4 separate regions of the Homo sapiens genome follow, and regions 2, 3 and 4 are each linked to region 1. Evidence: promoter capture Hi-C in 16 types of primary human blood cells and fetal thymus (Javierre and others, 2016). All regions are on one chromosome and are shown on one strand. The core of a region is centred on a gene start or on the middle of the fragment in contact, and the rest is flanking DNA. Distances in the headings are between cores, read along the strand shown. Region 1 holds the start of TNR (tenascin R). Region 2 overlaps TNR (tenascin R). Region 3 overlaps TNR (tenascin R). Region 4 overlaps TNR (tenascin R).

What was found. The method cuts DNA at HindIII sites, captures the fragments that hold promoters and counts their contacts. A CHiCAGO score of 5 or more calls a contact.
Region 2: a fragment that was not itself captured here is called in contact with the fragment with the promoter of TNR in region 1 in 1 of 17 cell types (endothelial precursors); the score reaches 6.3 in endothelial precursors.
Region 3: a contact is called between a fragment that was not itself captured here and the fragment with the promoter of TNR in region 1, in 1 of 17 cell types (endothelial precursors). The highest score is 5.5, in endothelial precursors.
Region 4: a contact is called between a fragment that was not itself captured here and the fragment with the promoter of TNR in region 1, in 1 of 17 cell types (endothelial precursors). The highest score is 6.8, in endothelial precursors.

Annotation. Positions count from the first base shown.
Region 1 is chr1:175,741,138-175,747,968 of GRCh38, forward strand. TNR (tenascin R) reads right to left here and starts at 2,458. Exons shown (of 23, transcript NM_003285.3): 1 at 2,089-2,458. The HindIII fragment of the contact is 6,381 bases long and covers 1-2,799 here.
Region 2 is chr1:175,507,807-175,514,637 of GRCh38, forward strand. The region is part of intron 2 of TNR (tenascin R); the gene reads right to left. Among named protein-coding and RNA genes, the nearest start is that of TNR, 230 kb to the right of the region's middle. The HindIII fragment of the contact is 4,666 bases long and covers 1,461-6,126 here.
Region 3 is chr1:175,525,319-175,532,149 of GRCh38, forward strand. TNR (tenascin R) reads right to left here. Exons shown (of 23, transcript NM_003285.3): 2 at 2,951-3,051. Among named protein-coding and RNA genes, the nearest start is that of TNR, 210 kb to the right of the region's middle. The HindIII fragment of the contact is 2,055 bases long and covers 2,451-4,505 here.
Region 4 is chr1:175,552,335-175,559,165 of GRCh38, forward strand. All of the region lies in intron 1 of TNR (tenascin R), which reads right to left. Among named protein-coding and RNA genes, the nearest start is that of TNR, 190 kb to the right of the region's middle. The HindIII fragment of the contact is 1,612 bases long and covers 3,607-5,218 here.

The DNA of each region.
Region 1 (6,831 bases), core at 1,208-3,707:
GGCTGCAAGTCTATCCAATGGGGAGCAATCCATTCCTTCTCTCCTGCACATGAGCATTACTGCATTTCCTAGGTGAGGGAATATTAGCAGGCTAGAAGTTCTATTTCTGCTTTCGCTATCCTCTGGCTTCCCACTTTAAGCGTCTGTGTCTCTCCATTTATAAAATGGGTCCAATAATGTCACTGAGCACTTTTTTTTCAGAGAAAATTTAAGGGCATTAATGAGATAATGACTACTAAGTATGGTGACTTCAGTAATAAACTGTGGTTTTGGACAGGGTCCACTGCAAGGGCATAATTTTTTAAAAATCCTCAGTGATGTGTCATGCAGAAATCTATCCACTCACTTGTTCAAACTGGAAGATTTCAAGGACAGGAGGTTTGGAATGTTAAAATACTGAATGAGTCAGTGTTGGTTTCTGATGCTCTGCATTTGTCTATTTCAGTCTTTCTTCCCTACCCTTACAACCTCTGACTTCACTGTCTTCCTGGATGCATTCTACTTCCTGCCACTCTAGGGAGATGCTAAGATTTCTGGATCCAATGCCAAGCATAGTAAAAAAGAAAAGTGGTGCCATTTCACTCAGAACTGTGTCTCTCACCCAGAAGGCTCCCCAGCCAGAGGCAGAGAGTATTTTCTTCATCTTGGAGAAGGGGCCCATTGTGCTGAATTAAAAATAAGACAAAGAATCACCATTCTAGGGTCCATTTGGGGTTGGAAAGAGTGAAACCACCCCACCTTGCCTATGTATCTCCCCTGTCTCAACACACTTGAAGAAAGTGACCAGAACCATAAACAGTTAGGGGTTAAATCAAGGGAAGACTTGCTCCTACAAGAAGCCACATCTCTTTCAAGTTCCCTGTAGGATGCTGGCTCCACGGAGACTTGAATGATTGAAGGAAATCCTCAACACCACTTGTTGAATGACTCAACCAGGTAGGTGTGGCCAGGACTGAATGGGGCAGGGGCAGGCCTATAGTGTCTCCAAGACAATACCAAAGCAGATGCAGGGAATTGACTGAACATACTTCAGAGAGGCAGAAAGCAGGAGAGACAGAGTAATACCTTGCAAAAAGTAGCAGCAGTGAAGAAAGAAGTAATAATGAGCTCCTGTTTGCAGAGCCTCTCAGTGCTGGAGGAGAACAGAGTACCACTTCAAGCCCTCCTGAGTCTGGGACAAGTCTAATTTTGTTTCTGCTCACCCTAGACATATAGAGACAAACCTTTATTCTTAGTTGTTTTTCACTGCCAAATGCCCCAGAAAACAGGGCAGAACAGACTTTGTCTTCTTTCCAACCACCCATAGCCAAAGATGGCATAAAAGTGGAGGGTACCTCCTGCCTCCTTGCAAATGTAATATAACCCACACCAGCCAGTCTCTGCAAAGCTCAAGACACTAGCACTTTCCTACCACCATGAAGTCAGAAGGGACCTCAACCCCCCAAAGCCGCCCCAGCCTGAGCTTCACCTGTTGCACCTGCCCACTTACCATGGGTTCACACCAGAAGAGAAAGTAAAAGGTCAGGTTGGGCTCTCTCCACAGCAAGAGCCCAGAGAATACTAGGAAACTGACATTTTACAAAGCACCTCTTTAAAGCTCTCTCAGAGGTGCGTAACTTTTAACTCTACCTCCACTCCCAACCCCCCAGGCTTCCTTTGCAACTCTTTCCCACCATGGATGGCTTGTCGGGAGAGAGTTAAAGAAGGTGCACGACTAATTCCCCAAACCATCTCGCTTATCTACAGACAAAAAGAACAGCCTTACATGGAGACACGCAGAAACCACCCGCAATTTAGCTCAGACCTCACCTGTCTTATGCAACAGTACACACACACACACACACACACACACACACACCCGCAAGGCCAGAGTCCAATCCCCCTTTAATTCGGTAAACATAGTTTTGCGCCTTTCTTTTCCCTACGCAGAACCCGACTCTACTGGCAGCAGAGAAATAGATGTAACCCTAGTGCCAAATGCCTTGCAGAACACACAGATACACAGGAACCAAAATGCATCTCATAGCTCTCCTTGGTGCTGAAATCACGTTAGCCAGAAAATCAAAGGAGCGAGTGCTCTGGACTTACCCAGGCTGGGGGTGGGCGGCCGGGGAGCGAGAGGAGCTTCCTGGGAAGAAAATTCTTGCTTGCTCAGGCTGGAGCCAGCTGATGCGCTCACCTAGAGAGCCCTCCTCTTTCCCTTCTCTTCCCTTCCTCCTATTCTGGGAGGAAGAGACAAGGCTCCACGAAAGAAATGAAACCCAAGCTGTCAGGGCTACGGGTGGAAGGAGAATGAGGAGGCAACCAAAATAAGATCAAAAAGTCAGGTGGCTTCACTCCACTAGTGGTAATTCCTTGGGTCAGAGAGGACCCCCTTCTCTCACTCTCCCTGGGTCTGCCCGTCTCCTCTGGGTGTTGAGCCAACAGCCTTAGCACAGTCGGTTCCTGCCTCTGACGTGAAAGAGAGGAGGAAGCCTGGGACTGCTTTGCTGTCTCTCTCTCTCTCTCTCTCTCTCTCTCTCTCTCTCTCTCTCTCTCACGCGCTCTCTCTTTTCCCCTCTTGCTGAAATTTCAGCAGCATGATTTTTTTAAGCCTCCGTTTTTTCCATCCCCCTACAAGCAGCCCCCTAGTGGACAGAAAAGAAAAGCATCCTAAATCCTCTTGAACAGTCCAGATTCAGGCACAGAAATACTCCCCGCACCCAACTCTTGGAGCTGCCTCTGCATAGGCAGGGTCCTGAAGAAGATAGAGGCTTCCCTCTGACCAACCCAGATAAGAAGAGAAAGGGAGAGGATGGAAGCTTTTGCAGATCCTTTGCCCATGATTGAAGGAGAAATCCAGGGTGGAATGGGTTGGGATAGAATGTTTTGGAATAAGGTCAGTTGTGGGGTTCTCAAGTGGTTTGAGGTCCGGGCTCAGCAGAAGGAACCCTCCAAAAAGTCAGCGTCTGCAGCCAGGTGAAGTATGTGTATACGTAGCACAACCCAGGCATGGGAATGCCTAAAGAGGCAGAGGATACAGGGAGCTGGCCCTTCATCCAACTCCACAATATAGCTTTTTTGTAAAGCTAGTAAGAAAAATATCTGAAAAGATATGGCCTGAGATCATCTCAGAAGTAGAGACAGAAGTGACCTTGATGCACATTTATGGAGAACCTTGGCAGAGAAGGGGCATCAAGGGGTCACTGCTCATAGGCTCATAAGGGATATCTAACATTCTCTTTTAAATGTACAGCCACACAGCCTCCCGGAAAGAGTCCTAATACTTACATCTAAAAATCTGAGTCCTGGTTTCAGACTGCCACTTGCTTACTGGACATTTTGCTTCTCTATGGCTCAATTTTACTGTTTGTAAAATGTGGATAATGCTGCCCCCTCCCTACTGAATAGGAATGCTAAGGGACTGGAATGATATAGAAACATAGAACCTCAGGATTGGCAGGGAATTTAAAGGTAATCTTATACAAACACTCTTCTTATATTTGATTCACTCCTGGCAAATAACAATAGCTAACATTTATAGAGTGTTTATACCAGGTGCTAGGCACTGTTATAAGCCCTTACATGTATTAGCTCATTTAAGCCATACAATAACTCTATAATGCAGAGGCTATTATTGCTACTCTATAGACTGGGAACTGAGTAACAGAGGAATGAAATAACTTTCCAAAGATCACACAACTAGTGAGTGTCAGGGATGGTAATGGAACCTGAGCCATCTGACCCTGGAGCTTCCTCATTGAATTACCATGTTCTATAAATGTACACTTCAGGAGTGACATTTGAAGTAAATAGAAGATAGCACCACAGTTATCATTGCTTTTATTTATGACAAAGTGCCTAGATTGTTACAATAAATTTATATGTGGCTGAGTTTTTAAAATAAAATATTTACCACTAGGGGTGCCAAACAAACTGTGGAAATTGCTATTACCGATGAGAATCTCCTAAGAAAATTAATTCTCTTGGTGATTTGGGTAGTTTCACATATACAAAACTGGCTTTAAATCTTATAAAATTGGAAACTATTGGGTTTTAACATCAGTTCAGAAGACACATCACTCAATTTCTGTACCAAAAGCAAATTATTGCCCACTGCCTAACACAGTGCAAGAACGGAGCCAGCAATTTGAAGAGCTGAAACGTTGTAATGCATTCAGGTAATAAACGCTCAGTGAGAAATTGACATTTTCTTCAGAATCTCAGAATTATGAATTCCTTAGCTGAGGTGGCTTACTTTTTCTGGCTTTTTTTTTTTTTTTGGGTGAAAAGTGGATGAAGTAGGACAAAGATGGTAGGTGACAATTAACAAATCATGGTCCCTGTCCTCAACAGAGTTACCAGTTCCTCAAAGGGGGAAAGAAAGAGCAAGACACAAATGATTACAATTCAAGGACTAAGTGCCAAGAATTTGGGCAGTGAGCACATGGAAAACACAACTAACTTGATCTTTGAGGGCTAGGGGAATTCCTAAGGTATGCAGCATCTAAGCTGAGGCCTGAATAATCAGAAGTCTTCCCAGCAAAAAGTGGGTGAGAGAATTAAGCTGAAGGCATAGCATGTGCAAACTCATGGAGGAGGGAAAGGGGAAAGAGCATAGTAGGAAACTTTCAAAGAAAGTATTACCCTTCCACTGACAAATGGGGAATCTGAGGCTCATAAAAGTTAAGTGGCTTGCTCAAGTTCACACATCTAATAAGTATAGAACCCAAATCAAATGCACATCTATTTGACTCTAAAGTCATCCCCTTTGTGAAGCATGATGATATCTTCTCTCATCACTTAGAAGTGCCCACACCATTTAATAGAGTGTTTCAATAACATAGAAGCTAACATAACCGAGTGAGGGTGTAGCATCTACCAGGAAGCTGGAAGTATGATCTGTTACTATTAGATGAGAAACCCATAAAAAAGGCACTAGTCAGTTCAAAAAAAGGGGAAATTTAGGGTGCTAGTATTTTTTTTCTGGTGGATGTACAATTATTAAATGTATTGGGAAGTAGGAATATTTCAGAAGTACGGAGACATCAGAGACTTGGATTTGAAATGAAGATGAATGTAGAAACGGCTAAAAGAAGGTTTCAGATTAAGTGCTCTGGGAGCCCAGAGGAAGGAAAGGTCCTTCTGCCTAGGAGGGGTTATGGGAGACTTCACCTGGGAAGTGGCCATTCATCTGGACCGTAAAGAATGTAGGTTCAGGAGACTGCTCCATTGCACCTAGACATTTTATAAATAGAAACATGAGATCCGAGTTTTCTTAATGAATAGTGAGACACTGATTAGAGGGAGAGTAGAAAGAAGATCATTGTAGACAGAAAGATGTGAAGCTTTGGAATATGGATGGGTTTGGGAAGAGTAGAAGAGAAGTGAGATTGATGGATGAATTTGATTTTGGATATGTCAGGCTTTGGGAGAGTGAGCTTATATACTATAATAGAGCTGTCCTGGCAGTGGCTGGAGTTCTGGAGCTCAGATGAGAGATCTGGATTGGTGATTTAGATCTGGAGCCCATTTACATGGACATAATAGTTGCTGGATGGAGACCACCAACAGGAGAGAAAACAAAGAAGACTGAGGGCAGAATCTCAACCCTATTTCCTTGACCTCTGGATCAAGTTTTATATTTCTTCTTTAGTCCTTGTAGCTGAAGTGCTTGATACCCAGAAAATAGCCTGAAAATACTTACTGATTGGCTCATAACAATAACCAAATATGTAGTTGAAGATGATATTGGGACTGAGATCAGTTACTTGTTCTTTGGATCAGTTACTGGTTTCTTGGCTTCTGATCTACTTCTAATGACAAGACCCCTCAATCACCATTCCTCTTTGGAAGCTGGTAATCATTGGCCCCTGGATCTTTTGTTTGTTTGTTTGTTTGTTTGTTTGTTTGAGATGGAGTCTCACTCATTCTGTCACCCAGGCTGCAGTGCAGTGGCGCGATCTCGGCTCACTGCAACCTTTGCCTCCCAGGTTCAAGATATTATTTTCTTGCCTCAGCCTCCCAAGTAGCTGAAATTACAGGCATGCACCACCACTCCCAGCTAATTTTGATATTTTTAATAGAGATGGGGTTTCACCATTATGGCCAGGCCAGACTTGAACTCCTGACCACAGGTGATCCACCTGCCTCAGCCTCCCAAAATGCTGGGATTACAGGCATGAGCCACCTGTCCAGCCAGCCCCCGAATTTTTGTTTTCTACCTAGCACTCCAGCCCCCAAGCTCTCCTCCACCAAACCGAGCATCTCCTTAGGCACCCAGCTATCTCCAGGGAATCAGGAGCCACTATGTGGTGAAATACCATGGTGGAATTTCACAAGGAAAATCCATACCATGACCAGCATTCCAGAAAGCTCTTGGATCAACCCTTCCAGTACTTGAGGTCTGGACATAGGGACTCAGGAAGTGCAACTGTGGCTTTTTGACAGAAAAGGGAAGGGAACCTAGGATCCAGCTTTGAGATATGGCAAGTACAGAATAGCCAAGGGAGCCCTCAATTCCTAGACTAACCTAGGCCCCCATCTTGCCACTGTTTCCATGAGCATAGAAAGACAGAAAGTTTGGTGTAAACACCAGATAAGACCTGTGATGACCTCAGAGCTCTGGCCAAGAAGAAGGGGAAAGAGGAGCAGTGGACACTATCTAGATGATTAATCAACACCCCCAAAGCCTGTCCTATCCAGGTAATGTTTTGGGAGTAAGTCTTCCTATTTCCCACTCATCCTTCCTACACAATTTCTGACTTGCAAGCCTGTGTTCACCTGGCTGTAGCTATGTAGGATTATAAATTATTGCCCTTTCATCCTATGAGGATACAAACTTCTTGGGGG
Region 2 (6,831 bases), core at 2,544-5,043, 230 kb before region 1:
ATGAGTGACAAGGAGGGGCTGTTTGCTCATTTTGTATCTCCAGCATCTAGCACATCAGTGATGCAAAGTAGGCATTAAAGCAATCTCTGTGGAATTTACTTATCTATTTATCTTTGTTTTTTCTCCTTTTGAATTCTGGTGTTTTTGCTATAGGAATAACCAACTATGGTCTTGTCCCTTTTTTAAAAAGACTGTATCCAGGAACAGAAAACCAAACACCACATGTTCTCACTTGTAAGTGGGAGTTGAACAATGAGAACACATAGACACAGGGAGGGAAAGATCACACAGGAGGGTCTGTCGCGGGGTGGGGGCAAGGGAAGGGAGGGCATTAGGACAGATACGTCATGTATGTGGGGCTTAAAACCTAGATGATGGGTTGATATGTGCAGCAAACCACCATGGCACATTCATATCTATGTAACAAACCTACAAGTTCTGCATATGTATCCTAGAACTTAAAGTAAAATTAAAATAAATAAATAAATAGACTGTGTATCTTTAAGTGGGAAGAACCCTAGATACAGCCCTGTTGGTTGCTGTGGTGAGCAGCCTTTGGGATGGTCCCCAGTCATGCCACCTCCTGGTATTCACACCCTTGTCTAATTCCCTTCCCTGGAGTGGGGGCTGGATTTATTGACTCACTTCTAACAATTAGAATATGGCAGAAGTGACTGGATTATAAAAAGACCAGGTCACTTTTAAGACTGGGTTATAAAAAGGCTGTGGCTTCTGTCCTGGGGCTTTTTCACTCTCAAACTGCTCACTGTGGCAGTAGCCAGCTGCCATGTAAAGTAGCCCTGTGGAGAGGCCCACATGATGAGAAGAGGCCCTCGAGGACCCATGGGTGTGCGTGGGAGCAAATCTTTCTCCAGTTCTGCCTTGAGATGACTGCATCCCCAGCTAACAGCTTGATTGTAACCTCACAAGAGACCCTGAATGTGAACAAACCAACTAAGCTTCTTCCAGATTCCTGGCCCTCAGAAACTGTGAAGCACTGAATGATTGTTGTCTTAAGCCAGTTAGTGTGGGGTCATTTGTGACTCAACAATAGACAATTAATACAATCATGTACTCAAAACGACTTTCTTGTACTTCTCCCTTCTGACTCCTGCAGCACCATGTGAATGAGCTCCTGGGCAGAAACCATCTCATGTGTCCTAATGATGTGAGTCAGCCCTAGTCAGCCCTCTCCTCAGAAGTAGATGATAGATTCTTTGAAGGCAGGGACTGTATCTTAAAAGTAAATAGACATTCTTCAAGAGTATTTATGGAATTAACTTGGAAGAATTTTCCTGTTTCCTAGCAGGAAACCAGTATGAGCCATTATTTTGCTGGGGCAGTTGTTTCTAGTTTTCTCTTTCTTTCTGGACCAGCCTAGGAAGTATGATCCTTCCTCCGCCAGTGGTGTTTTTATTTGATAACAGTAAAAAAAGAAAAGTTTTGACCTAACACCTACAAGCTTTTTTCAATTACCTGGTGAAGTTACTTAAGCTGAACTCTTTTTGCAGCACTGATCCTTTTCTTTCTCCTTTCGAATTGCTAGATGGGAGAGAAAATGGTCTTTGGATGATAAAGCCTGTTTCCAGGTTATCTTTGAGAAAAATGTAATCCACTGTATTCTTCTGCTCCGAGTTTTTCTCCTGCCTCCTGATTTTCTTGGCTCTTATCTCCTTTTCATTATTTCACAGTTGCCTGGGCACCTAAAGAACTTCTCCCTCCCTAACTCCCTGACCCTCACTTTCCAGAGTTTTTTTCATGGCACTTCCAAGCCACCTCACCCCTGATGCTTGACACTAGTGTTGAGAAAAAGCTGGCAGAGAGGACAGTCTTCCAGAAAATGATCTTTTCCAGTCAACTCAATAATAACTTGGCCTAATAGTAAACCTAAAGAGTTAAGAATTCATAGTCTGATGTTAGCTTGAAAGTGCTGTATCTAAACTCTTTCTAACCAATAAAGAATGGATGCTTTGTTAAATGTAGAGATCTCTGGACCAGGGACCATCTTGTACTGTATTTTTAAACTTCCTTCTTTTTCCTGAGGATTGAACTAACATTTTCCAAATGGTGGAGACAGGCTTTATGGGGTGTGTGTATGTGTATGTGTTAAATTCTTTTCTAAAATGTATTTAAGGTCCAGGCATAGTGGCTCACACTCATCTGTAATCCCAGCACTTTGGGAGGATGAGGCGGGCAGATTGCTTGAGCCCAGGAGTTTGAGAACAGTCTGGGGAACATGGCAAAATCCTGTCTCTATAAAAAAAATATAAAAATTAGCTGTATGTGGTGGTGCATGCCTGTAGTCCCAGGTACTCAGGAGGCTGAGGTGGGAGGATCACTTGAGCCCAGGAGGTCGAGGCCACAGTGAGTCATGTTTGTACCACTGCACTCCAGCCCGGATGACAGAGCAAGACCCTGTCTTGAAAATAAATGAAATGAAATGAAATGTATTTAAGGGTTTTCCTCTTCTAAGTCCAGGGACTTTATTTTGTCTGTAAATTACATCCTCATCTTCAAAGTGCACTTGATCCTAAGAACTGTGAAGACCTTTGCCCAAAGCAAAGAAAAAAAAAAAGACACCACAAGTTACCATCCGTGTGCACAAAAGTTATCTGTTACTTTTGACCCTCACTCAGTTTACAACCTCTATCCCGTGTCCCCCATGGCCTTTCCTGGTGAGAGTCAGCACCATCATTATTGTTTCCTATCCCTCTTCCAGGATGGAGGTCGTTGTACCAGGTGAGTGGTTAGGTAAAGCAAATAATAACCATAGTCAAATAATGTCCCTATAACTACAAGCTGTTGAAAAACTCTTAATTGGAACTACAAACTCCTGATTCAGGAAACTATAAAAAGAAGAAAGTAAATAAGTATCTGGAATTTCAAATCAAAATAGTATTATTTGCTTATTTCAAAGCAAGTTTATTCTATAAATCCAGGAGTTGGGTGCATTTATCTTTAAAGTATCAGATAGTAAATTAATGAGATAGCTTTGCCACAGCTTCCCCTGAAGTGATAGTATCCTAGAACTGGCAGATTGTTTTTCTAGAAAGTTTAGCAAGGATATTTTTACAACGTTCCCAAAATTATTCAGTTCAGAATTTATATAGAAGTCACATTAAGACTAGTTTAGAGTAGAATTACTGAAAGGAATTAGCTGCTTATATGGCAAAAAATATCACCAACATGGAGGTGAATAGCTCACTCTTGCCTTGCAAAAATGGATGTAATCGTTTTGTTACACAACTTCCTGCCCCAATTCAGCCAAATTTTCCTGCCAACAGAACCAGAGTGTGGGCCTGTGGGACTCTCTAAGTTGGGACTCCCTGGATCCCTTAGCTTCTGTTTCTTCACAAGCAAGCCTCAGAGCCCAGTGCAGTAAACATATAATAAAACAAAGCTCTGCTGCAATTGAAACAACAGAGCATGCATAGCAAATTAATTTAAATAAAGCATGTCAAATATTTGCTTCACTTTAAATTCATAAAATGCCATTTCATTAAATTGTGTTTTCATTTATGTCAGGCAACTGTCATGCCAAAGCTATTTTTTATTATTTTAGAAGTTGGAAAATGTAGGAAAATACACTTTTAGAATAAAATACTGTCATGATAAAGACATGAGCCCTGTAATATTTGATTTGATAGAGGAATGATGGATTGTGAAGTCTAAGGTTTTATTGTACTGCAATTAGAATAAACATTCATGAAAGGTCTCTACATTCCCTCTATGATGACCCTGTGACAACTGCCATTTGGCGCCTCTGAGAAGTAACATTCCTGACTCTCATGACTCAAGCACATCTTGCAGTGAGAGGCAGGGGTCTGAGCAGGCTGGGATCAAGACAGGGATGCTAAGGAAAATAAGAAGCCCTGCCTGAAAGGGAAGTTAATTTGTGAGTCATGGAGCCACTACTTCTAACTCCTGGGACTGCTTCTCACACTGACAAATCTCTCAGTTCCCCTTTCCTTCCCCTGACCCGTAGTGAGGTGATCACGGACTCTTCTTCCAGAAAGGCACAACAGTCCTGAGTTTTGGAGCTCTCTCCTGGCATTGTTTCCTGGTACACAATGACTTCTCACTAAGCATGATATTATTACATTACTTTTTGAAGAACAAGACTTCTCATTCATTGCTAAAGTCAACAACACATATTGGGTAACCACTGTGATCCAGCACTTTAATAGGTGCTACAGCTATAGGATGATTGAGATAGAATCTCTTGACTCTGGAAGAACTTATGGTCTAGTAGGTCGAAATATTCATTAAAAAAATTCCAACATAAATGGATGTGGCATTCACTCCTAGAACATATCTCCTTGGAAGAGAACTCTCTTCACCCTAGAAAGAAGCATGTAAAAGGGCCAGAACTATCTGGGGAAAGTGAGCCATTTAGAAGGAGGAGCACCCTCTCCAAAGGAGTTAAGATCCGTGACCATTTCAAGTAGGCAGGAGAGGCATCATCTTGAGGATTTCACTAAAACTAGTATTTCAATGAGACTGATTCTAAGTGTAAATTAGAAATATTTTAAAAATCTTTATCAGACACTCAAAGTCACAAGGTTTTCTTTTTTTATTCTCTGGCTATTGGGGAAAAGCAATTTTAAAAATATAGGATAGCAACTCTTAGTAGACTCTTTTGGTATCTACCAAACAAGTGATGACTTCTTTCCTCTAGAATTATCCTCCCTCCAACATATCCCTATGGAGATGGAGAGATGAGTACTATAACCCCAGGCCCCTGAACCTGGTGAAAACAGCTGACCTGACTTGGGTCAGTCATATTCTCTGCCTAGGAATTTAGAATGGAGACTAAAAGAGTGCTAATCTGTCTTCAGTGTCCAGAGGAAAAGCACCTTTAAGAGTTGTGCAGAGTCCATCACATGCATGAAAACACAGAAGACAGTGTAGGTCATCAAGAGAAGCAGAAATGAGAGATGGAGAGAGCACATCGTGGGTTCCTGGAAACGCATTAGTTCCTGGGGTCAGTCCCTTCCCAACACGTGCCCTTTGCTTTTTTGTTCTGCAAGATACCCATGGATCCTGCAACACACTTCCCCTTTTAGGTAAGCCAGCTCCAGTTGGTTTCTGTAACTTGCAACCAGAAGTTCTCTGGTTTAGGTATAGTCCAGCCTAAATGACTGAATGGACCAAGGCATCAGCCATTTCCTCACTTGGATGCTATAGAATTTCAGGTCAGTATGGTTCCCTGGCCCCAACTTACACCTACTGAATCTGAATCGCCTAGGGTAAGGGTCCAGGAAACCACATTTTGTAATAAGTTCTTAGGATGTTCTGTTGGGTTGCCAGGTTTTAAATTGGTGGATAACATGGTAATCCTTGTAATGGGATTCCTGCTGTGTATCAAGTGCTTCTGCGTGGGCTGTCTCTCTGTCTTCCCCACTACACTGTGCTGTAGGCGTTATTTATTGGGGGAAATGTTGATTCATCTCCTGATGTTTCCTCCCATATGGAGGCAGCTCTCTGAGCTATAACTCTCCTGTCTCATCTCCATCCCCTTATTCACTAGTGATCTACCTGCTTGCAAAGTTTGGAAAAAGAAATCGAACACATGTAGTCTAGGTTCTTCTTCTTCCTTTTTGGAGTTGGTCTGCCTGCAGAGAGCAGGTGCTCTCAGATGCACTCCTCCTTCCTAGAAATCCCTCTCCACATGCTCTGTCCCTGCCTGCAGGGGGCTGCAGGGGAGGGACCCTCCCCAGTGCAGTGCTGCTGCGACTGGGTAGGAAGAAGCCCTCCTCATCTCAAGGTTCAATGTTATAGGTGCAGGCAAAAGTAACATCATCAAATATCAGTTTACCAATGTGAAATCTAGGTCTCTACCTGGCTCCCTTCTTTTTCTTACATTTCTATTTGTTCAGAGCTCTGACAGGGAAGAGGGGTGCTATTGACTGGGCTCCTCAGGACCCCTTCCTTATTACGTGTTTCCAGATAAAATCATTTTTCAACACCAGAGTCTAAGCTCTTTCCTCTGCCTGCTCAGGGAACCTCTGGAGAGGGCTTCTCAAACTCACTGCACATGCACATCTAATCCGCGGAAAATTTGTGAAAATGTAGATTCTGATTCTGAAGGTCTGGGATGGGTTTGGAGTATCTGCATTTCTAAAAAGCTTCCAGGTGACTCTGATGTCACCATTGGAAGGTCCACACTGGACCCATGAGGTTATGTAAAGGATCACTTCCAGAGGTCCAGAGTCATATAAGTTGTGATGGGCAGAATAATGACGCCTCAAAGACATCCATACCTTAGTCTCTGGAATCTGTGAATATGCTACCTTATATAGCTAAGGGGACTTAAGGTTGCTCATCAGCTGACCTTAAAATAGGGAGATTAACCTGATGAACTGGGTATTCCTAGTGTAATCACAAGGGTCCCTAAAAGTGGAAGAGGGAGGCAAAAGAGGAAATCAGAGTGATGCTATGTGAGAACTCCATCAGCCATTGCTGGCTTTGATATGGAGGAAGAGGACACCAGCCAAAGAGCATGGGTAGCCTGTACCCTGCATGGAAAATGCAAGAAAACATGTTCTCCCCGAGAGCCTCCAGAAAGAATGCAGCCCTGCCAACACCTTGGCAAAAGCTCAGTGTGACCTGTGTCTGACCTACAGAGCAGTAAGATAATACATTTTTATTGTTTTCAGCCACGAAGTCTGTGGTCATCTGTTATGGCATCAACAGGAAACCAATACACAGATACATCCCTTCCAGCAGCTGGACTATTCAACCAGGGAACCATGGTTCCCAGGGAAACAGTCTGAGAAGTTTTTGTGTAGGGAGATGCTTGGTAAAAACGTAGTGTACCTTGATGAAAAA
Region 3 (6,831 bases), core at 2,228-4,727, 210 kb before region 1:
TTTACAGAAGTGTGAGAACAGACTAATACACATAGGGAACAGCCATTTGAGCTCTGACTGATCAGAGGTTTGGCATAGAGTCAAACACTGCAATTCTGGAGTTGTACTTTGTTCAGCCTCCTCAACCTAGTTTTACCACGCAGGAAAGCAGACATTTACACTCTAACTGTAGTTTCTGATCAAAGCCATAGTTTAAATGGATTACAAGTAATTTCCTCCTGAAACCCCTCAAGAGTTCCTGAAATCTGGGGTGAGTTTTGGACTGGCAGGGCCAGTGCAGGAAAAGTGGGTTTGCCCACAGCGATGCCCAAGCCCCGGGTGCCCTCCTTCACCTACCTGGCTCCTTGGAGTCCTTAACATCCCTCCAGGGAAATATGGTGGGCCGTCGTTCCCCACCTGAGTGCTAATGCTCAAGGGTTAAGCTCAAGGTTTAGCTTCTCTTGAAAGTCTGTAAGAGCAGCTACATTTGTTAAGCATTTCACAAAGAAGCTTAAATTCAGGAACACCTCTTTCATGACCACCCATATACAGAAGGGCAAATCGTGTTTTTAGGAGTTTCAAGATTTAATTCTGGGGGTAGCCAGGTGCCTAGTTTGGTTGGGGCAGTATAGCAAGCAGATAACTCGGTTTGTTTGCCTGTAAGAATATATTTACCTAAACATTGAACCATTTGTTTATGTCCACTTTTGCTGGTTTTTTTTTTTAAATTCCCCTTTCCCATTTTGCTTTTATTTTTATAAAATCTGACGGAAGGGTATTAAGTTGAAAGGCTATATCTATTTGGCTTGATAAGTGTGTTTTTCCTTTTTGGGAGTGAACCCACCCATAAGAGTTACAGAGGGTGCTGAACATATTCATAAAGTGAAACATTCATATTTCTGACTATCTTACATTATTCTCAGCCAAAGTCAGGTACTAACAGCATTAATATCAAAGTAAATGGCTAAATAATAGTTGCTCAATAAAGGTTATTGTCTGGAACTGAAAGTTATCATAAGGTGTGGGGGTATAGAGTGAAGCTTTTCCATAGATTATCACAATTGAAGGACAGAACTCTGTCCTGGGCCCCTTCCCCCAGATTACCATTTTTTGAAAATGCATGATCATGGAGACATATCTACACAGAGAATCACAGACCTTTAGAGATGAAGGGCACCTTATGGACACACACAAACCCAGTTTTAGGCTGCAAAACGGGAGAAAGTAGTACGGTACTTCAAAACCTGTCTGCAGTACAGAACAGGCTTGAAGCTGGGAGCTCAACTCCCCAAATATCACATTTATCTCAATTTGGCAAGAAGCTGAAAACCTATCTGGGACCATTTAAATTCTAATGTTATTAAGGGCTCATCTAATCAGCTTTTAAAATAAGCTGCTTCAAATGCATGGGAAATGAAGGTGAGATAGAAGCAGGCAAGCAAGGCAGTTCAGGCCAGCCTGTGAGCACCTGGGTTTGAATTGCCAAGGAGCCATGAGGGGACCTGGCTGCCTACCTATTTGGTAACTCCTGCAATTCCAACACCAAGCCATGCTAGTGAAAAGTGATTTGTAAGTGTGTGGGGAAGGGGACTAATCTGGACAAGCTATGTTCTCCTGTGAGGTGGTTCAGACACATGTGACAGGCTTGGCCGGGAAAGATGGACTGCCCTCTGTGCCAGGAGGTGGCTTTGAGATTTAATCAGCAGGGTTTGTCAAATATTCTTTTATCCACACAAGTGCTTTCCCTGAGCAGAGTGCAGGTCAGTAAAAATGTCTTCATTGTAATACACTGCCAGTGTTGCTTTCGCGACAGGCAACCTTAGCCGTTGGTACACCCTGGTCCACCTTCCATGTCTGCTTGGTTGCAGAGAACTTGATCTGAACCAGCTGGTATCCTAGAAGCAACAAATTAACCAATTCTCCCTTAAGTGTGAATGGTTGATAGCCAGCGTGATGTGATGATGTCTCTTGTGAATTGGAATGTTCAAAGGTGTTTTAAATGGCATGGGGTACTTTGTAGTCAAGTGCCCCCAAGGAAGGCAGGCTGCCACTGAGGGTGTTCTGGGCTGATTCAAACATGGGGCTTCAGAAAAGACTTGCCTTAAATCTGTAGAGTAGCATGAGGGATACTGAGACTGTAGTGAGTCTAAGGAAGAAAATGAGCTCCCGAACAAACTTTTCACAACAAACTTAAGCTGTATAACAAACTGTATAACAAATACAGAGAGAAGACTGGTGGCTATATTATTGTTTTGTGCAATAAAAAACGGCCACACCTGTTTGAAAAGTTCCCAGTTCAGTATATCAAGTTTGAGTGCCATGGAAAGTTATTAAAGGAGCAAAATATTCACTGTGCCTGACAACTCTATGAATCCTAAGAGCCTTCTCCTGTGGACCATTTTTTAGAGGTTATTATTTCAACCTGAAAATTCTTTAGACATATATATGTGGTATGAAAAAGGAATTAGGAAAGCTTTTAAATTAAAGGAAATAAAATGACAGGTTTTTCCTCCAGCCATATAGTTATGGATAGAGATAAAGAGATGGATATTTTTTCATAATACTTTATTAGGGGTTTTGGAACTCCAGAAATTTTAGAGCGAGACTGGTGAATAATTTATCACTGATTCATGCGGGCCCAGTGCAGGCACAGGCAGGCTGGGAGTCAAGTCTAGCTTCTTGGAGGGACTGAGCACAGTAACACACTTTCATTACCAACCGCATCATGAAATGCATTCAGAAATATTTTATGAGAAGCCAAAGCCTTGGTACCCGGTTTCTCCAGCTTTTTCAGAGACTGCATGAAGCCCAGAGGAGCTAATGCTGTTGACCACCTCATTTCAAGGAGACTAGCCCCCAGGGTGTTGTTCCAGTAACAAAAGGTCTCAGATCCCTGGGAATATGCAGTTACATATGAAAGCCACAGACTGGCCATGGGAATGATGAATGATCAAATGTTCACAGGAAATACCTTTTGTGATGGTGTCTTCGATGCTTTCTCTTTACTGCACTTTCTTTAATCCTAATTCCAAAAGAGACCTGCCCTCTATGCAGTTAAAACGATACAGCCACCTGAAACAGAAATAAGGGAGGGAAGAAATATATTAATGGTTTCAAAATAAGAAACCCTGGTTTCCCTTTCTATTCTAAGTACCACATCGCCTTTAAAATAAATTTGTAGGTGCACCATGTGAATTTCCAAAGCAAAGAAAATTGTTGCTTAGTTGCTTTTTCTCTCCAGAGACTTTCATTTATTTCATTGATTTTCTTTCATTCATTCTCATAGTTTTCAATAAAAAGGAAAATATTTGAGGTAAACAAATCTATGGAATGATTATAAATCCAGAAATGTGCTTTAGGTTTTTGAAAGTGACTGTAATAACATGCTTAGCTGATCTGATTATGACAAATGCTTGACACTCCCTCCAAAAGGCCTCCCATACAAACCTCCTCCCCAACCTGACCCCCTCTTATGTCCTTAATGTCCTTGGCACTCTAAGCATTCCTATGTTGTGAAAATCTCCATGTACTATAAACCTCTTTATTTGTGCCATGCTCACTCTGGACTCCCAACTCTTCAGGGTCAGAGTCTTCAACTTTCTCACTGCTTTAGTTCCTGTCCCAAGCACAATGCCAGTGCATAAAAGTTCAACAAAGAAGGAATAAATGCATGCAAAACAAAGTAATTCTCCCAGATTAGAACAACCTCCAACAGAAGCAGTGGCATCGATTGTTAAGTGAGAGCCTTCTGAGTAAGCAAATTTGTCAGCTTCTGTAACCAGGGGTCCTACGCAGATCTTCAGCCAGGCCTCCGCTACACAATTTCCAAGGAAGTGTCAACACAGTTGGTGGCTCGATAATTATGCCTTCAAGGGCTTGCTTCTCACAAACCCTGCTAAGCCTTCTCCAAATGGGACACTGAGCCCCAGGGATATCATTTATAGGTGCTTCAAGAGGATGGATTTGCAAAAATCAGGCGACATCTGAGAGAGGAAGAAGCAAGCATTTGGCTGAGGTAGAGGCTTGCTCATCTAAGACATCTGTGAATAAATTAACCTTCCCTGGAGGACCTCATGAAACCCTCAGAATTGGAAGAAGTGTAAAGATTATTTAGTTCTGGAAGGGCAAACATTTTCCATCTTGAGTGAATACTCCAGTGCATCCACTGTGGCTGCCTGGCGAGTGGGGACAATAATTCTGAGGTGGCATCACAGGGAAAGAACTGGTCATCAATGGGTTTGCCAGGGCCCAGGACTGGGAGGTGTTGCAGGTGATATAAATGCCAGGTATTTTTCTCTTCCAATTCTAATCTGGCTGCTCACCAAATGGAAGAATCGCAGGTTCTTTGGACAGTGTAATTTAGATGGTAGCTGCCCACAGATTGCAGCCTATTTGGGGGGCAGATAGCTCTGAGACTAGAAAATCTCTTCTTCCATGGAATTACAACTCCCCCTCCTGTTTGCTTCCACCCACTGACCTTTCTTTTCCTCATCCTCACCTGTGAGGTGCTAACCTCACTCTCAGAAAGCTTGTCCAATATCTTTTGAACCAACTGCATCAAAAGTCATGAAAAAAATTATGAAAATCCCCTTCACTTGAGTTTATTAAAAACACCGGGTACTTTTGACATGCTATTTTATTGTTACCTATTTCTCCAACTAGATGTAGGCACAGTTATTCACTCATTCAACTAACATGTTTATTACATTTTAAAGTTCTTCATTTGATATTCCTAAAATTATAAAAGTGACACATGCTTATTATAATAAAAAAGTCAATATAAAAATGTATGCAGAAGACGCTAATCGTTTCTCCCAATCTCGGTTCCTTAAGTAACATTTTAATACACTGGTAAGTATCCTTCCACACTGTCATAATTCCCAGGAAACAGCTTGAGACTGGATATGCACACAGAAGGCTTACTGAGACTTACTCCTGAGGGCTACGGCACCTGGGGGAAGTACAGGAAGTGGAACTGGCCAGAGGGAACGTTGGAGGTGTCCTGCATTGAAAAAGGATCCAGGTCTTAGGGCCCCACACACACCCGCCTCTCTTTGGCTCTGGGCTGCCCCCAGGGAGAGGATGGGCAAAGCAGCTCTTTTTGGCTGGTGGTGATTCCTGAAAAGGGACTCAGCTGTGAGCTGTCAGCAGCCAACGCTCCCAGCAGCTGCAAAATTGAGTGCCTCAGTTGGGTGGTGTCTCAAAGCACCCAAATATACACCCTCCCTTTTGCTCATTTAAACCTAATTATGCATATATAACAGATATATGGGATGTTTTTGTTTATAGTTTTTAACTGAAATACTCTGCAACTTGCTTTGACTTAACATACAAACATCATCATTTTTCCTCTAATTTGTTTATGCATACATACACATACTTTTACAAGATTATACTATACATGTAGAATTTTTAGTGCACTCTCTTTTTTTTTTCTCCATTGCTTGCCTCTCTCTACCTCCTCTTCTTCCCTGAACTATCCACATTACCTCGGCCCCTGTGTTGGCAGCATGGAGTACATCCTTTTAGACTTCCTTTCACGCTCATTTAACCACATATATACATATGTGAATGTGGATATGTGCACTTATTTACTTTTTTAGTCATTGGCAGCAACCATTTACTGAGAGCCTTGTGAGTACCCAGGCCCATGCCAGGCACCAGGAATATGAAGAAGAGGATACAGCCACCACCTGCAAGAAGCTCCTGTCTTTGAGGGAGAGGGACATGGGAACTTGTCAGGGCATGCACCTCCAAAGTGATTTAGAGGAATAGAATTAGAATGTGGGGTTTCTGTATTCCAGTCCTATCCTCTTTTCCACTTAACCAGTTTTATTTATTTAAACGGGTTTCCAACTGTTGGCTGAGCAACTGCCAAACTGAAGTGGAGTGTGTGTGCCAATCTTCCTGAAGTCATTACCACACTTGTTCTGATAGAATGAAGCTCATCGTGAACCCCATATACTGGCCCTTGTGATATAAACACGCATTACCTCACTAGTAGATCCACTTAATTTGATGAACAAGTCCTACAGCCCTAATGATATCACACAAAGGCCTTATCTTAAGATAGATTCATATAACTGGTGACAAGGCAAAGGATTATTATCACAGCCATTCTTGAAGCTGATGTGTCTCAAGGTAGTCATATATTCCTGCAGCAGCAAGTTCTAGAGGCAAAACCACTGGCTTAGACAAATATGGGGTACAGGGCTCATGGTCCCAAATCCTTTTAGCTTACACAGTTTCAGAGGGACCCGAGGGAGAGGGGAAGTGGCACCCCAAGAGACATACACAAAAGTAAAGAGCATGCTGACCTGACTCTCCAGCAGCTTCAGTAAATGGGTGTGTTCTTTCTGTCCACGCTGCAACCTACTCATTTACCTGTATGTACCCTTTCCAGTGCTCTGCATTATCTGGGGTCAACTTGCAACAGCTCATCTTTGGAAAAAACATCCTATGAAATATGTCTAGAAAATGTGCATTATATTTTCCTTCCTCATCAAGTGCTGACCCCTCTGTAACACAGGTGAGTTCAGCCATCAGAGGGGATTGGCTTGGACTTTGTAGCATGGGCTCCCTGCCCCTGACTGCCTAGGCAAGAGCTGAGGATCTGGACAGTCCAAAAAGTGCAGCCCAAGAGACTCTGTTGACCTCAATCACAGATTTTTCTCCAGGGCTTTGTGTTTTTGTCCTCTTTGGCTTAGGTGAGTCATGGACTTTAGAAGAAAGACACCTGCTGGGCCAGGTGAGATCCAACAATCAAAAACTGCAGAGATTTCAGACTTCACAGTAACAGTTCTTTTTGACATCCAGTATAAACCTTGTTGCTTGAAAGGTTTTGGTTGATGT
Region 4 (6,831 bases), core at 3,163-5,662, 190 kb before region 1:
TTCTGCTAACCCCCACAATGCTCTGAATGGCAGGACCCAACTGCAGAGAGCTGAGACAAAACTGTAATCATGTCTTCTACCCATATGGTGCTGTCCAGTTTACAAAGTCCTTGCACATATGTTATCTCGTTTGATCTTCCTAACAACCATGTGCAGTACTCAGGGTGAGGAATTTGTACAGAGAAGAAACTGGAACTCTTAGAGGCTGATTGGCTTATTCATTGTCACACAGCCTGGACTCCAAACTATCTGCTACTTCATGGGCTGACTGAAGCCATCTATGTAAGGCAAGGGGAAATACGGCACGATTTTGGAAGAAGTCATTATCTCTGGTACATTGTCTATTTGAAGTCTTCTAATTTTGTGATATTGAGTCTTTCTATTCTTTATCTCCCCTGTCTGTCCACCACATCAATTCCTAACTTTTTCCTTCCTGTTCCTGAATTACTCCCGTTCTGACTTTTTGGATCCTATTCCTGCTTCTTTTCTCGTGCCTCCAGATTTAATTCTTGGCTTCAGGAATTGAAACATTTGAACACTGAGCCTAATCAGATAAACCGTGAGTATAGTGTTGACTTCATGGTTAGAAGTGGCCACCCTGGCCAGTCTACAGCCTGGGAATTTGAACTAGACCTGAGAGCCCTCTTGATGAGAACCATGAGGCACCCAGGCCATCACATATGATCTGCTTGGACCTCTGTTCATCCAGTTCAGTCTTCCACAAACACAGGGGCTCTGGCACATGAAATACATCACTGAAGATAGATTTCACATCATATTTTAATCTTTTGATTTATTCCTCAAGCACACACTAAGTTTGAGGCTAAAGAAATGGTGGAAAAAATGAGATGGGAAAAGTGGTGGGGATGAAACACACTGTATTCAAAACATTAGGGTTTGTGTCCACCCTCAATGGCTGCTGAGGGCTAAGGGGATTAGAAAGGCTCATGTGTGAGCCACCAACACTTTTTCCACCCTCAGACTCCTTGGAGATTTCTTGATCCATTTTGTGATTGAGGTAGACAGGATCACAGCATCCAGTGTTATGGCTGCAGGCATAATTCCAACATCTGAGAACATTTTCCTCCTAGATATTTAATTTCCTCTTCCAGCCGTTTACCACTGGGGCCCTAAAACCACTTCACAACTCTATCCACCACATCATCTTAGCCTCTTTTGCAAGTCTTTTAATATCCATTGGAAAATAATGCTGTCTTTGATTCTGAGAAATCCCTAACACTTCTTCCCTTGTTTCTAATTAGCAATATTTCTGTGGTAATTAAGATGAGAGTAGCTCCTCAGTTCTGCAGCATTTTTAATTCAGAAAGAAAGAAAAATACAATAATAATATAAAGTGGCTCTAAGAATGAATTTGTTAGGGGACTTGAGTGTATGATAAATAATTTCAGCCCATCTTAAAACACACACACACACATTCGTGTAGATATACATACATATCATACATATGCATATACAAGAACAAACACACACACACACACACACACACACACACAAACAATAATTACCCAATTCTGGAAAAACAGGATTCAAAATGCACCAATGGAAATACTGTCATTCTGTGGGCAGAACAAATGCATTATCTTAAACTCTAGGCATCCCACAAAATGAACAACTGCAGTGAGCTGAATGCTGATGAAAAATGGCCACAAACAGGCCACCTTTCTTCTCTCATGGGATGGCTGGAAATGGGCATATTTCCTTGCTGGTCAAACACCCAGTGACTTGGCATTTTCAATACTTTTCAAAGGCCCGCTGCATATATTCACTCTGTGTTAGCTTTTGTTCTTGCTAAGTATGGAGTGGAGTCAGAGCTCTGCATTGCCAGACAAAATCTAATGCTGTAGGCTGAGCCAAGAGTCAAAGGTGCTATCATTTCTACTTTACAGATGGCACTCCTATCTCTAAACTTGGGTTTGTGCATGAGTGCACAAATACATGCTTATACATCTTCCTAAGGGATTAACAAAAAGATGTCCTACATGGCAAAAAAAAAAAAAAAAAAAAGATATCCTTTCTTCATTTCTGACTTTTTAAAATCAAGGCATATTTTGAGGCTGGTGCTCATCAGAGTACAGGTAATGAGCTCTTGCTTGTAATTTTGTGAGTGTATATTTTCTCAGGGAATTGACAGATAGCATAGGGTTCTATTTGTTTGGAAATCATAATTATTTCTGGCAATTTGGTAATTATTTCTCCTGTAGCTAGTTACTTGTTGCCTTCTCAAGCAAAATTGTGTTTGCCAAGAGCTGGCTGTGGCAGTGCAGTATTTGGTGGCTAAGGCTCTGGGCATGGCTCATGGGGATGCTGGCCCTGCTAAGGACAGGCTCCCAGCTCCATGATTTCTCCAGCCCCCACCCCTGAGCTTGTCCATATCTGAGGAGAGTGAGCTGCTAAGTAGAATGCTTCTCTTTGTTTTAGTTGTTTCTTCCATTGTGAAATCCAGGATTCTCCCACTCCTATGTTTATTCAATCATAAAACCATTGGGAGTTAGAGCTCATTGAGCCTTTGAGATCATCTTATTCACCCTCTCATTTTATGAATGGAAAATCTGTGGTGCACAGTGAATGGTTATGCCAAGGTCATCCAGCAGTCGGGAAGGGCTAGGCTAGAACACAGGTCTCTTTACTCTCTGGCCAGTGCTCCTTTATCCTCCATGTGATGATTTAACTCTTTTTAGTTAAGCAACTTGTATAGATTTTCCAGTATGGATTAAGCATAGTCCTAGGTGCTGCAAGCTCAAGAAAGCCAAAAAAGAGGGAATGGTAGATGTCAAATGAGACAACATTAGAAGAGAACATTACACAGTGCCTGGCCCAGAGGAGATATTCCATGGGTCCCTGCTTTTCTCCCCTTTGCTCTTCCCCACCCCCTATAGATACATACAGAGGGGAAAAATCTCAGATATTTGAGGTAGTCAAATTCTTGCAAGTGTCAGAAGGGGAGCTGATAGACAACTCCAGTTACTCCTTTAGAAGCACATTTTCTAGTTCCTAATAAAACCTCTCAGGCTAGGCCCACACCTGGAAGAACTCCCCTGGTATTCTATAAAGACATCAGCTCCTGGGCTGCCCCTCTATTCCAGAGTGTTGATGAATGTGTGGCTCGCCCACACTGCCTGATTCATAAGCACATTAGTGCTGACTCACCGACAACTGAGAGAAAAAAAAAAAAAAAAAAATCTCCTCAGGTTTTGAGTTGAGATGAAGACACTTACAAGATGCAAAATTCAGCTCTACTGATGGAATGATAACTGAAACACACCATGAGCTAGTCATCTGGGGAAAATATTGTCAAGGGTATTTGGTCTCAAACCCAAGCTCTTGTACCCATTTTCTGAATTCATAATAGAATCTTCGTTTTCCAGAGATTTAAAAATCTCCTTACTTTACTATTAATGAAAAACAAGAAGCGTAAAACCATGAAGAATCTAAAGTAGCTGACCCAAGTTCAGCTTATCCCTGAGTTCAGCCTTGATAGGAGGATTTGGCTAGAAGGCTCCTTCCAACCATGAGTTGTGTGGCTATAAGATTATCACCAACCATCTTAGTGCCAGCTTTACATGAATCTGTTGTTCAATGATTTGAAGCTTCTCTAGATCTTATTCAAAGCAAGGCGTATAGGCTCAGACAGCCTGCTCCACCCCTGGATACTTATATAGAATAATCATGTAGAAATTATTGAATTGAGGGCAGCCAGGGCTGCAACTTGAGTTCCTGGGCCCCTCTGCAAATACATCTCCAAATAAGAAGACCGACGGCCTTTTTGGCATGTAATGAAATACAGAGCCATTCTGAAGATGGGCTCCTTGGCCACTGGGGAAGGCCATCCTTTGGTTTTGGCCTCAGCTCCTTGCCTTTTGATTCTTTTCCACCTCCTCATCAGAAGGCTAACAATCTAAACACCAAGCTCAACACACCCACATCAGTTAGTAGGCAGTTTTAGCCACATATAGCACAACACAAGTAATGTCCATGAAGGACAAAGCATATTCAAGTGCGTAAAGGACTGGTATACTGCCTGGTACAGAACCAAGCCTGATTTTAGCATGCATCTTTCATCTTTTTCTAAATCCAACTTGTACCAAAATACATTATGAGAAAAACTGTCTCTCTAAACTCTGTGAAAACAAGACCTTTTCTGGCAAGACTCCTGGTGTAGCCTGTCCTGTCTTCAAGCAGGACCCCATTATCCACAATGGCTGCTCAGTAAGCCTGGGCGTCCCTGTTACACTCACCTTCTCTGAACTCTGCTTTCTTGGTTGTTTAGCCTCTCAGCCTCCCTGACTCTCCTCCTCTTGCTCCTTCTCAGTCTCAGCTGTGCTTTTCTGTATTTGTGCATGTGTGTCTGACTCCTCTGTTGCCCCCTCTCATGGTACCCAGGGAGGCACTAATACTCCGGTGTCCTCAGCACAGTCCCCTTCCTTGGATAGACAAACTCAGAAATGGTCCCCATGATCTTTGCCTCCTGGTACTCATCCCCTTATGTAGTCTCCTCGCCATGAGTGTGTGTGGGACCATTGATGCTCTTCTAACCAACACCATATAGCAAAAGTGTTGAGATGTCACTTCCATGATTATGTTGTGTACAATTGTGACATCTTGTTGGCAGACTCCCTCCCTTGATGGTTTTGATGAAGCAAGAAGGCACATTGGAAAGGTCTATGTTTCCAGTATAAGACAGGGAGCTGAGGATGTCTCCCCACTGCCCAATAATCAGGAATTGAAGGCAGCCTCTCACAGACAGTCAGCAAGAATCTGAGGCCTTCAGCCCAACAAGCCAGAAGGAAATGAATTCGCTAACAACCACATGACACTGGAAGCAGACCTTTCTCCAATTGAGAAGAGACCACAGTCCTGGTCAACATCTAGGTTGCAGCTTTCAGATGAGACCCTGAGCCAGAGGACCCAACAAAGCCATGCACAGACTCCTGACCCACGGAAGTGGTATGATAATGTGTGTTGTTTTAAGCCACTAAGTTTGTGATAATATTACTCACAGCAATAAATAACCAATATACATCATACTTGAAGCACTCAACAATATGGCTATTCAGTTTCAAAGACTGTTTAGATTCAACAGTGTGTGAGGAGGATAACAGAAAACATTTACCCTAACATCCCTTTTGCAGAATTCCCTCTCCCCAGCACCTTGGACAGTTCACATCCAATCTCAACTTGAACTTTGATAGCTTTGAGAAGCTTAGTGTCATACAAGATAGCCATCTCACACCAGTTAGAATGGCAATCATTAAAAAGTCAGGAAACAACAGGTGCTGGAGAGGATGTGGAGAAATAGGAACACTTTTACACTGTTGGTGGGACTGTAAACTAGTTCAACCATTGTGGAAGTCAGTGTGGCAATTCCTCAGGGATCTAGAACTAGAAATACCATTTGACCCAGCCATCCCATTACTGGGTATATATCCAAATGACTATAAATCATGCTGCTATAAAGACACATGCACACGTATGTTTATTGCGGCATTATTCACAATAGCAAAGACTTGGAACCAACCCAAATGTCCAACAACGATAGACTGGATTAAGAAAATGTGGCACATATACACCATGGAATACTATGCAGCCATAAAAAATGATGAGTTCGTGTCCTTTGTAGGGACATGGATGAAATTGGAAATCATCATTCTCAGTAAACTATCGCAAGAACAAAAAACCAAACACCGCATATTCTCACTCATAGGTGGGAATTGAACAATGAGATCACATGGACACAGGAAGGGGAATATCACCCTCTGGGGACTGTTGTGGGGTGGGGGGAGGGGGGAGGGATAGCATTGGGAGATATACCTAATGCTAGATGACGAGTTAGTGGGTGCAGCGCACCAGCATGGCACATGTATACATATGTAACTAACCTGCACAATATGCACATGTACCCTAAAACTTAAAGTATAATAATAAAAAAAAAAGATAGCCATTCTATCTATGGACAACTCTTTCTTTTTTAAAATAATTATCTTATATCTATGCCACACTTATTCTGTGCTATTCACTACTCCATAATGTATATGCTTCATTGAAATTATTTCTCACAGTAATTCCATTAAGTCAGTACTATTATTATCTACACTATAAATATGAGGAAACTAAAGCTCAGAGAAGTTAAGCAACTTTTCCAAAATGAGTGCATTAAACAGACTTTAACCCAACTCTAACTCAAAGTCATATTCTGAACTACTATGACATACTGCTCCAATCTTGTTAGAATGTTCCTCCTTATGTTAAACCAAACTTTTCCTTCTTCTGATACACCGTTATTGATCCCATGGGAGTTTTACAGGATAAAAATTGTATTTCTCTTCCATAGGAAAAATTTTAAGATGTGTAAAAATAGTTATTATGTTTCCTCTTTCCTTCTTTATTATAATTTTTTTAAAGCACCCTACTTAAAAACTCAGTATGGAGAGGGATGAGTAAGCAGAGCAGCGAGAAATTTTAGGGCAGTGAAACTACTTTGTGTGATACTGTAATGGTGGATACATGTCATTATACATTTGTCCAAACCCAAAATATGTATACCAAGAGCGAATCCTAGTGCAAACTGTATAATAATGATGTGTCAATTTAGGTTCATCAATTATAACATATGTGCCACTCTGGTGGGAGATGTTGATAGCTAGGAAGGTTGTGCGTGTGTTGGGGTAGGGACACATGGGAAGTGTCTGTACCTTTCATTCACTTCTGCTGTGAACCTAAAACCACTCTGAAAACTAAAAATCTATTTTTTAAAAAAATTTCACTATACAAACAAACAAATGAACAAAAATTCTTCTATGGGGAATGAAGAGA